Regions from separate parts of the Homo sapiens genome. Here region 1 is linked to region 2. The links are contacts of gene promoters, found by promoter capture Hi-C in human tissues and cell types (Jung and others, 2019). All regions are on one chromosome and are shown on one strand. Each heading gives the region's core, a stretch centred on a gene start or on the middle of the fragment in contact. The rest is flanking DNA. Distances are from core to core; before and after follow the strand shown.

Region 1 (4,632 bases), core at 148-2,647, 380 kb after region 2:
ATTTGGAATGTCAGTAAAAGAAGAAGACAAATGGATTATAAATGAAATAAATAGGATCTTTAAAAGATGAATGAATAAGCATCTGAAACTCTCCAATCCAGCAGACAGTTTTATTTCCCATTGCAAGTACAGAAGGGAAAGCTATATTTTCTAGGGCCTAATGAAACCTACAGAAGATTGAATATATACAGGAATAAAAGATCATACCTTGGGATAAAAGATAATAGCAAAAACATATATCTAGGACACTTAGTGATGAATCAACTACAATGGACAAGAGTCAACTAAGGCAAATCAAGTAGATCTAGTTTTCCTACTAACCTTTCTCATCTCATAAATAGTCTTCAGTGCCTGCATCTAAGGGGAATAAACACATTCCAAACCAAGCCAAGCCAAGAGAAAGCATTCATATTAAAGGCCTCTCTGCTGGAACAGAAACTAAGGCAACATTCTAAGGAGAACTTAATATCCTTAGTATGCTTTTTCATTCTTGATGAAAGACGAGTTACAGTAGGGGTCTGAACCACAAAAATCTTGACATAACTGGTAACAACATCCTACGTGGAAATTTATATATGACCCAGAGACCTCAAAGAATTTTAATACATGGCCAGAAGTGGTGGCCCACACCTGGAATCCTAGCACTCTGGGAGGCCAAGGAGGATGGATTGCTTGAGGCCAGCAGTTCAAGACCAGCCTGGGCGACAAGGCAAAACCCAACTCTACTAAAAATACAAAAGTTAGCTGGCCGTGGTGGGACACACTTTTAATTCCAGCTACTTGGGAGGCTGAGGCGTGAGAATCACTTGATCCCGGGAGGCGGAGGTTACAGTGTGAGCTGAGATCATCCCACTGCACTCCAGCCTGGGCGAGAGTGAGACTCCGTTTCAAAAAAAAAAAAAAGAAATCCAACACAATTACAAATCAGAAGTATCCATCAATAGCAAAATAGGTGACGCTGAGTTGCCAGGAAAGGTCAACAGCAAGCACTGGACCATTCTATTTCGAAACATACAAGTCAGGGCAATATGTAAAGTACATAAAGTGTAAGAAGGATTTTTAACCTATTCACATGTTGGATCCCTTCAAAAGATAATTTGTCATTATAGGTTCCTCAAAGTCCATTTTGTAATTCCTTTTTTTTGAGACGGGGTCTCGCTCTGTCACCAGGCTGGAGTGCAATGGCACCATCTCAGCTCACTGCAACCTCTGCCTCCTGGGTTCAAGCGATTCTTGTGCCTCAGCCTCCCGAGTAGCTGGGAATACAGGCACGCGCCACCACACCCAGCTAATTTTTGTATTTTTAGTAGAGACAGGGTTTCATCATGTTGGCCAGGAAGGTCTCGATCTCCTGACCTCGTGATCCGCCCACCTCGGCCTCCCAAAGTGCTGGCCATTTTGTAATTCTTAATTTCCACTAAAGGTCACGTGATCGATGACAGGCAAATGTAAGGAAAATATAGGCGGTCCTTACTTTGCATGGTAGTGCAGGACCATAAAAGTAACCATGCGTGAGGCCGAGGCGGGCGGATCACGAGGTCAGGAGATTGAGACCATCCTGGCTAACACAGTGAAACCCGTCTCTACTGAAAATACAAAAAACTAGCTGGGCGTGGTGGCAGGCACCTGTAGTCCCAGCTACTCAGGAGGCTGAGGCAGGAGAATGGCGTGAACCCAGGAGACGGAGCTTGCAGTGAGCCGAGATCACGCCAGTGCACTCCAGCCTGGGCGACAGAGCGAGACTCCGTCTCAAAAAGAAAAAAAAAAAAAAGTAATCACACAAGCTGAAATCATGCCAAGTGATTTTAATAATCAATGGGGGAAATCACAATTGTTCTGGTGAACTTTAAAAATGTTTGTCAAAGCATTAAGAACTCTCTTACTGTTGGTTATAATGTACAGAGAAATGAAAAAACAGTAAAACTAATACTTCTTTAGTACACTATAATTTAAAACATTATGCCATTTAGCATGCCTTCACTAAGTGCCTCTGGCTGCCTGTCTAGAGTTCCGCAAATGGCGGCAGTGGCAGCGTTCCCACTGTCAGTTACTTATTTTATTACTCCATTTATGCTCAATTGGATTTTACTTCCAGAGTTATCATTTTTTGTTTCTTTGTTGCTCTTTCATTTTTACTGGCCACTTCCCACTTTCGATTATCTATTTTGCTAATAGGTCATGTAAGTTTATTACTGAGAGGCAAGGAGGCAGCAAAACATGCTCTCCTGTCTGCGTGTAAACTGAAGAACAGACGCGTGCCTGTTATTTTTGCAGTGATTTCTGATCTGCATACTGAAGAGTCTGTACTTATGCATTCATAGGTAACACACCATGGTGACTGAAATTTGAATCCTGGGTGACTAGTGTTGTTATCTAATGGTAACTGAAATCAGTGCACACCAGAACCCTGCAAAGCAAGGACTGGCTCTACAGCATTCCCTTAAAAAACATTTTTTTTAAAAGTGTCCTGGACAGGCACAGTAGCTCATGTCTAAAAACCCAGCACTTTGGGAGGCTAAGGCGGGAGGACTTCTTGAAGCCAGAAGTTCAAGACCAGCCTGGGCATAATGAGACCCCCGTCACTACAAAAAAAAAAAAAGTTTTTAAAAATTAGCCAGGTATGGTGGCATGTACCTGTAGCCCCAGCTACTCAGGACGCTAAGGTGGGAAGACTGCTTGAGCCCGGGAGTTTGAGGCTGTAGTGAGCTGACTGCACCGCTGCACTCCAGCCTGGGAGACAAAGTAAGACTCTGTCTCTTAAAATTAAAAAAAAAAAAAAAAAAAAAGACAAAAAACAGTGTCCTGCAGGAGTCAAAGTTATTCACAAAAAGATTCCACAGTTCGTAAGAGAAACATAAGGGAGACACTGGGCTGAGATCGAATCACCTTCATTTACCAGCAATACTTCTCAGTGAATTTAACAAGTTAACAAGCACTTTCAATTTCCATGATGGGGATCAAGCATAAGTGATAAATACTGTACCCAACCTCGGGTCTTTCTCTCTCTCTCTCCCTTTTTTTTTCCCCACAAAACACTTCATGGGTTATTATTTTCCACCTTGGAAAATTGCCTTAGAAGCTAATTTTCAGACTCATCAGCTATGAAGAGTTTATTATAAATTTGTTTTTATAATTATAAGTGTTACAACTTTATGATTTAAATTTACAAAATTAAAACATTTTTAATGTTTTGCAATTTTACAATTGGTACAAAGTACCAATAAACCAAGTGTATAGTAAAACCACCCCTTTATCAACACAGGAGACTAAAATGGTGACAGCATTACCAAGCATTTACTGACTACTAACAAAGCACGTTAATGAATACATATGAACCAAAGAAGTCAATAACTGATCATACACTAAAACTTTCTAAAACTATCTTTTTAACCTCAAAAGAAACAAACAAATTGTTTGTCTCCAATTACCCTTATTACAACATAATTAACAAGTATTTGTAAGGCACTTTCTAGGCTGAAGTCTAATGACTGAGTCAAATCTTCTTATGTAGATCAAAATACAAGACCTACATAAGAAGCAAGATATAACATATCTCTAAGCCAGCCATATGATTTTCTTCTAGATAAGATTACCTGGAAGCCAGGGCTACCTTTACCCACCAGGCATAGCTTCTATCCTAGGGTAAGAATTCAAAGGTATAATCTAGCACCACAAGCACTCTGATTTCAAAAATTCCAACCCTGACTGCCAGGTTTATTTAAGTGATATTTGCCAAATCCCTTTTGCACAGCTTGACTCCATTCCTGGCTAGGGTCATCCTTTTGTCACCAGTGTATCAGAATACGGAGTGGGCAATTTAAGAAGACCTGTTGCCTAATCCCATGTGGACATCTTGTTTTGCTCTAGTTAAGAAAACAAAATTAGGAGACAGTGGGAACTGGTCAAAGCAGACTAACAGGCAACAGGAAAAAAGAATCGCAAGGAAGGAGATAAAACACCATCGATAAATGGCCACTGGTGTGGGGCAATCTGGTGCACAAACAGTCCAGCAGCCCACATGGCACAGAAGATAACTAAGGTCCGTGATACTTAGTCAACAAAATTATATGCCAACTATTTTTAGAAGGATTTTGACAGACATGCTCTTCTTGAAAGAATACTACACTATTTAAAGCAGTTTAATCTCCTGAGTAACTTTTCTGAGGACAGTTACATTTCACAAGTAGAACTATCAGTTATAGGAAAATCTTATGTATGTAGACCATATCATTCCCCAACGATGGTAAAGTGGTTGCTAGTTTTCTTATATGCCAATTAATCTGTGAAATGTTAACACTTCGTTGCAACAGTTTTCATGCTAAAGGTTACTTACCATAATGGGAGGTTTCTAGTGTTTTGAAAAAGAAGGGATTCTAAAGGAAGGGAGAAATAAGACAGCAACAAACAGCTTCAAATTAAAATCATATCACAAATAACCTTCAAGGCAGTGTATTTTTTTTGAAGGTAGCAGGACCAGAGAACTATTCAATAAAGTAAGAAAGCAGCTTTCATATTCTACTTTGACAGCCATGTTCACAATACATTTTGCACACAGACATAGGTAAATGAAATCACATAATTACACAGGCGTTAATACACAAACACGATTATCATGTGAAAAATCTGTTATCA
Region 2 (4,521 bases), core at 1-2,500:
ACACATCGAAGTGTAAAAACTTAGTTGATTCTGGGTTGCTTTCTGGCTGGAAGCTGACAGAACGGACTGAAGAGAAACGAAAGACAGTGTGCGAGGCAGACCTACTGCTTTTCTGCCTTGCGTTCTTTTCTTTCTTGCTAAAGGCAGTCAAATGGGGAAAAATACCCCGATGCCAGGTGAAGGTGCACAACACAGATCGACCCAGACCGAGCCAGAAAAACGTCTCCGCCGCTCCCCCGGCTGGAAAACCCAAAGTCCACGTCCCCTTCCACACGCTAATGAGGGGAGATTTTCGCCTATTTCATTGTTCTGCCTGGCTCTGACATGGACTTTTCATCTCTCTCCTCTCTCCCCACCTAGCCCCGTGCATTCCGATTCCACAGCCCCCCCAAAATCGGAGGCTCGCGGAGAATAAAGGAGCGTGGGGTGGGCGCGGAAAGAAATGGGAAGGGGCGCGGGGCGGAGAGCGAAGTGGAAAGGAGGTGCTCCGAAAGGTAATGTGGGGGGGCGGTGGAAGCTAAGCCGCATCACCTTCATTTATCGCAAATAAATAAAAAGCACAGTCACCGGTCCGCCTTCCCCGGCGTCCCTGCCCTCCCCGGGCAGCCGCCCACCCTCGCACACGCCCCCTCCCCTCCTGCGCCCCCGGCCCCTCTCCCCGCCCTGGAAGCAAGACCCTGCCGGCGCCGGGTCCCGGTCATCTTCCGGGCGAGGGAGGGGGTCGCGGCCCCCTCGGGCCCCGGGTGGGGGCTGGGGCAGGCGCCGGGGGCTGCGGGCGCGGGGCCGCGGGCAGAACAAAGCTGCGGGGGCCGCGGAGGGCGGCGGGCGCGGGGTCGGCGGGGCCGGGCGCCCCTTACCTTCGTACACGGGGGCCATCGGGGCCGGGGTGTCCGCGGTTCATGGCAACGGGGACGGGAAAGCGGCGCGCGAGCTCGGCCCCCCCAGCCTCAGTCGGAATCTGCCATCTTGAGCCTGTGTCTCCGCTCTCGGCGCAGCCGAGGCCGCCCGCGCCCGCATCACCGCCTCCCGTGGCCGGCGCCGGGGGAGGGGGCCGGGCGCGCCGCCGCCGCCGCCGCCGCCGCTGCCGCCCGGGCCCGGCGCGGGGGGCTCGGGGCTCGGGGCTCGGGGCGGCCGGGCGGGCGGAGCGGCCGAGGCCGAGGCGCCGAGCGGCCGCGGCCCCCGAGCGGATCCGCGGAGGGGCGGGAGCCGGGGGCAGCGCGCGGCCAGGGCCGGCGGGGCTCAGCTCAGCATGGCTGGGCGCGGGGGCTCCGCAAAAGTTGCTGGCGGAGGGGGGCGGCGGGCGGGGGCGGGGGCGGGGCGCGGGGCCGGGAGAGCCACAGGGAGTCCGCGCGCAATCGAGCGCCGATGGCACGGATGCGAGGCGGGGAAGGCCGAACCGAAGGGCAGAGCCGCGCCGGCGGCCCGAGGGGACCGCGCTGGGAGGGGCTGCCGCGCAGCGCGGGGGGACTGGGCGCAGGGCGGGCCCCGGGTAGTGGGTGAGAGGGCCGGCCTGGACCCGGCGGGCGCACGGCTCCGAGCCCAGCGCAGCCGAGCCGGTCTGCAGAGGGGCCCCCAGAACTTTGTGTGTGTGTGTGCACGCGCGCGCGTGTGTGCCCAGGTGCGAGGGTTCGCGCGTGTGCTGGCGGGGAGGGAACCGACCCGAAAGAGAGCCCCACGCTGGCAAAGTGGCTCGCCCATCTCACAGCCGGTTGGCGCTCGCGGAGGTAGGAGTGGAATGAATGAATGAAGGAGTGGGCGCGCGCCGTGCTCCGGAGGAGGGCGGGTGAGTGGAGGAGCTTCGGAAAGCCACACGAGGTCAGAGGCACCGAAGCCCTGCCGTGCACGCCGCGGAAATGCAGCCCCCGGGGTGGTCGCTGGGTTCCTGCCGGAGTCTGGCTTCCACGCCACCCTGATCTTCTCCTCCTCGCGTCTACACTGTCCCGAGGGCCGCCACTCCATCACTTGAATGGGAGCTCACAACTCTCTGGGTCCTCGCTTTTCTCAGCGCTCTCTCCTATCAGGGCTTCCGCTAAACACTCTCCAGACTCTCCCCAGCCGGGAGCCTCTCCAGGTTTGCTTCTCCAGCTGCCTCCCGGATGCTTGGATAGGATGCCCTGCCATCCCCTCCAACTTAGGAAGACTTGTTGAGTCTCCTCTTAGGCACTGTTTTTAAAACTGTGGGTCGTGACACAGTAATAGATCATAAAATAAATGCAGCGGAAGGCAACCAGCTTTCAAAAAGAACGAAATGGAATCCAATAGAAAATATTAGAGTCCATTGCCCTTAGTAAGGGCAACTATTGTTTCATAAACCTTTTGTTTCGATTATAGGTACTGGACAAGTGTACTGGACCATGATGTCAATTTTATTTCCGTCTGTGAATCGTGGGTTTAAAAAAGTTGAAAAGCTATCTGTGTAAAATAATGATCTCTAACACTGTATAACTTTCTTAAAAACAACCTCGTGATTTTCTCACTACTTCTTATCCTTTCCGGTCTCCATCCTCCGTTCCCATCCTTCAGTCCTTCCCAAAAAAGGCAAGCTCTTTCACACTTTTTTAGTGGTACATCACGACACCTTCCTCTGTGTGATCTTGTACTCTGCGGTCTTCCTTGCCCCCATAATCAATGCTACACTTCCTATCCCTTCTCTTAACCTAATGCCATTCACGTTTGCAGAATCCTAGACTACTGTTGCTAAAAGGACCTCAGAGGTCATCTGGGCCAGCCCTGCCCTTTTAGAGTTGAAGAAATGGAGTCCAGAGAAGTAAAATCTGTTGCCCAATGTCACACAGTATTGAAGCTTAGGAATAGGTCTCGTGGCTCCCACTCTAGTGTTTTTTGCTCCACACCGGTCATTTATCTCCTTCCCTTCTATCCTCCCTGCAATCTTTAACTTTAGTCTTGGCCCAGGTCATCCTAAATATTGCCATCTTCATAATACGTGGTTCTGGCCATGCCACGCTCCTGGCTAACATCCTCTAAGGACTCAACCTCTGCAGGTGGGGCTGAGTGCCTTGGCTTTTCATCAAGGCAGGCGAGTCCTGACTTAGCTTTCTAAGGACATGAGTTCAGCAAGTCACTGCTTCTCTAGCCAAACTGGTTTACTTGTAGCCCAGTGCCAGCTTCACCCATCTCTGTCACTGTGCCTTTGCCCAAGCGGTCACTTTCCCACCCACTTTCCCAGAGGGGTACCTTCTCCATCTTCTCTCTTTAAGCAGATTCTACCTGTGCCTGGCTCACCTCCTCCACAAAACAGCCCGAGATAGCGTGGGAGTAAGTCAGACCTAGGTTCAAATCCTAGCTCTTCCACTTAACTATGTGATCTTGGTCAAAATGCTTAACCTCTCTGAGCCTCAGTGTCTGTATTTTGATTATGAGAAGGAGAACAATAGTAATGTTCTCCTTTTGCATCTGTAAATCTCTATCATAGCCTTCACCACACAGGTATGTAACTCCCTGTTAATACATACCCTACATGCATGTCTCTCTGCCCCTTTCTAGTGCTGGCCATTAGAACTTGCTGCCATAATGGCAGTGTAGCTACTTATGTCTGTGGAGCACATGAAATGTGGCTAGTATGACTGAGGAACTGAATTTTTAATTTTAATAACCATGGGTGGTTAGTGGCTACCATTTTGGACAAGGTGTCTCTAGACTGTAAGCTCAGTAAGGACAGAAACCATGTTTTTCTTGTTTTGGATTGTATGTCCAATAACTGCATTGCCTAACGCATGGTGAGTACTGCACACATATTTGTTGAATGGATGATAGCTGCAATTTGTTGCATGCTCCCTTGTGTCCAGCACAACACTACAAACTCGATAAAAGGCATTTCATATAGTCCTCATCACAGCCTCTGAGGCTGGGTTAGATTAGAGAGAGAGTTTTATATAGAGGGCAGACACATAGTAGGGGTTCAATAAAAGTTATTATTATTCTAACTCCTCCCTCTGACCAGCCCCACTGACTTTTGTCTCATCTTTCCTTAGGCTCACAGAACATTTCCTGCCTGTTGCTCACACTCTGTTGTCCACAGCATACCCGCACCCTAGATGGCTGACTCTTGTCTTCTGTGTAGGTACCCTGTGTTCATAACTGGATTGGCAGCGTCTTGGAGCAAGGCCCTGCTTTATAGGACTGCCCCTGAATTCAGCACTGACCAGTGTTCAGTAACTGCCTCTAAGTCCATCCCAGCTGCTGTCTAGCAGTGAGTGATTCTAGGCAGTCTTAAAATGAATATCACTTGTGTCAACCGAAAACATTTTACAGGTAGTCTCCTCCCCATAAGAAGGGAACAATCTTGGGCAAGGAAATAGAGTCCCATGGAAGGGGAACAAGATGGAGCCATACAGACAGAGGTCCACCTTCTCTTCAGACCACCATGACTGAAGCTGTATCCATGAGATGCAAAACATGCATTCAATTGAGCTAGCGAAGTTCGTATGATATAACGGAAAAATATTCTTGAAATGAGCTTAGATTTTCCTTCATGAATTGGCAGACTGAGTATACTAATTG

What was found. Contacts are between HindIII fragments. The study calls those that stand out against the background at their distance.
Region 1: a fragment that was not itself captured here is called in contact with the fragment with the promoter of HIPK2 in region 2 in 1 of the 25 tissues and cell types used here (IMR-90 fibroblasts).

The regions. Positions count from the first base shown.
Region 1 is chr7:140,151,735-140,156,366 of GRCh38, forward strand. The region is part of intron 1 of KDM7A (lysine demethylase 7A); the gene reads right to left. Among named protein-coding and RNA genes, the nearest start is that of KDM7A, 23 kb to the right of the region's middle. The HindIII fragment of the contact is 5,386 bases long and covers 1-4,090 here.
Region 2 is chr7:139,776,748-139,781,268 of GRCh38, forward strand. It overlaps HIPK2 (homeodomain interacting protein kinase 2), which reads right to left and starts at 1,251. Exons shown (of 15, transcript NM_022740.5): 1 at 858-1,251. The coding sequence starts at 876. It also overlaps a transcript of TBXAS1 not described here. RefSeq lists silencers at 847-936, 1,367-1,596. The HindIII fragment of the contact is 11,506 bases long and covers 1-4,521 here.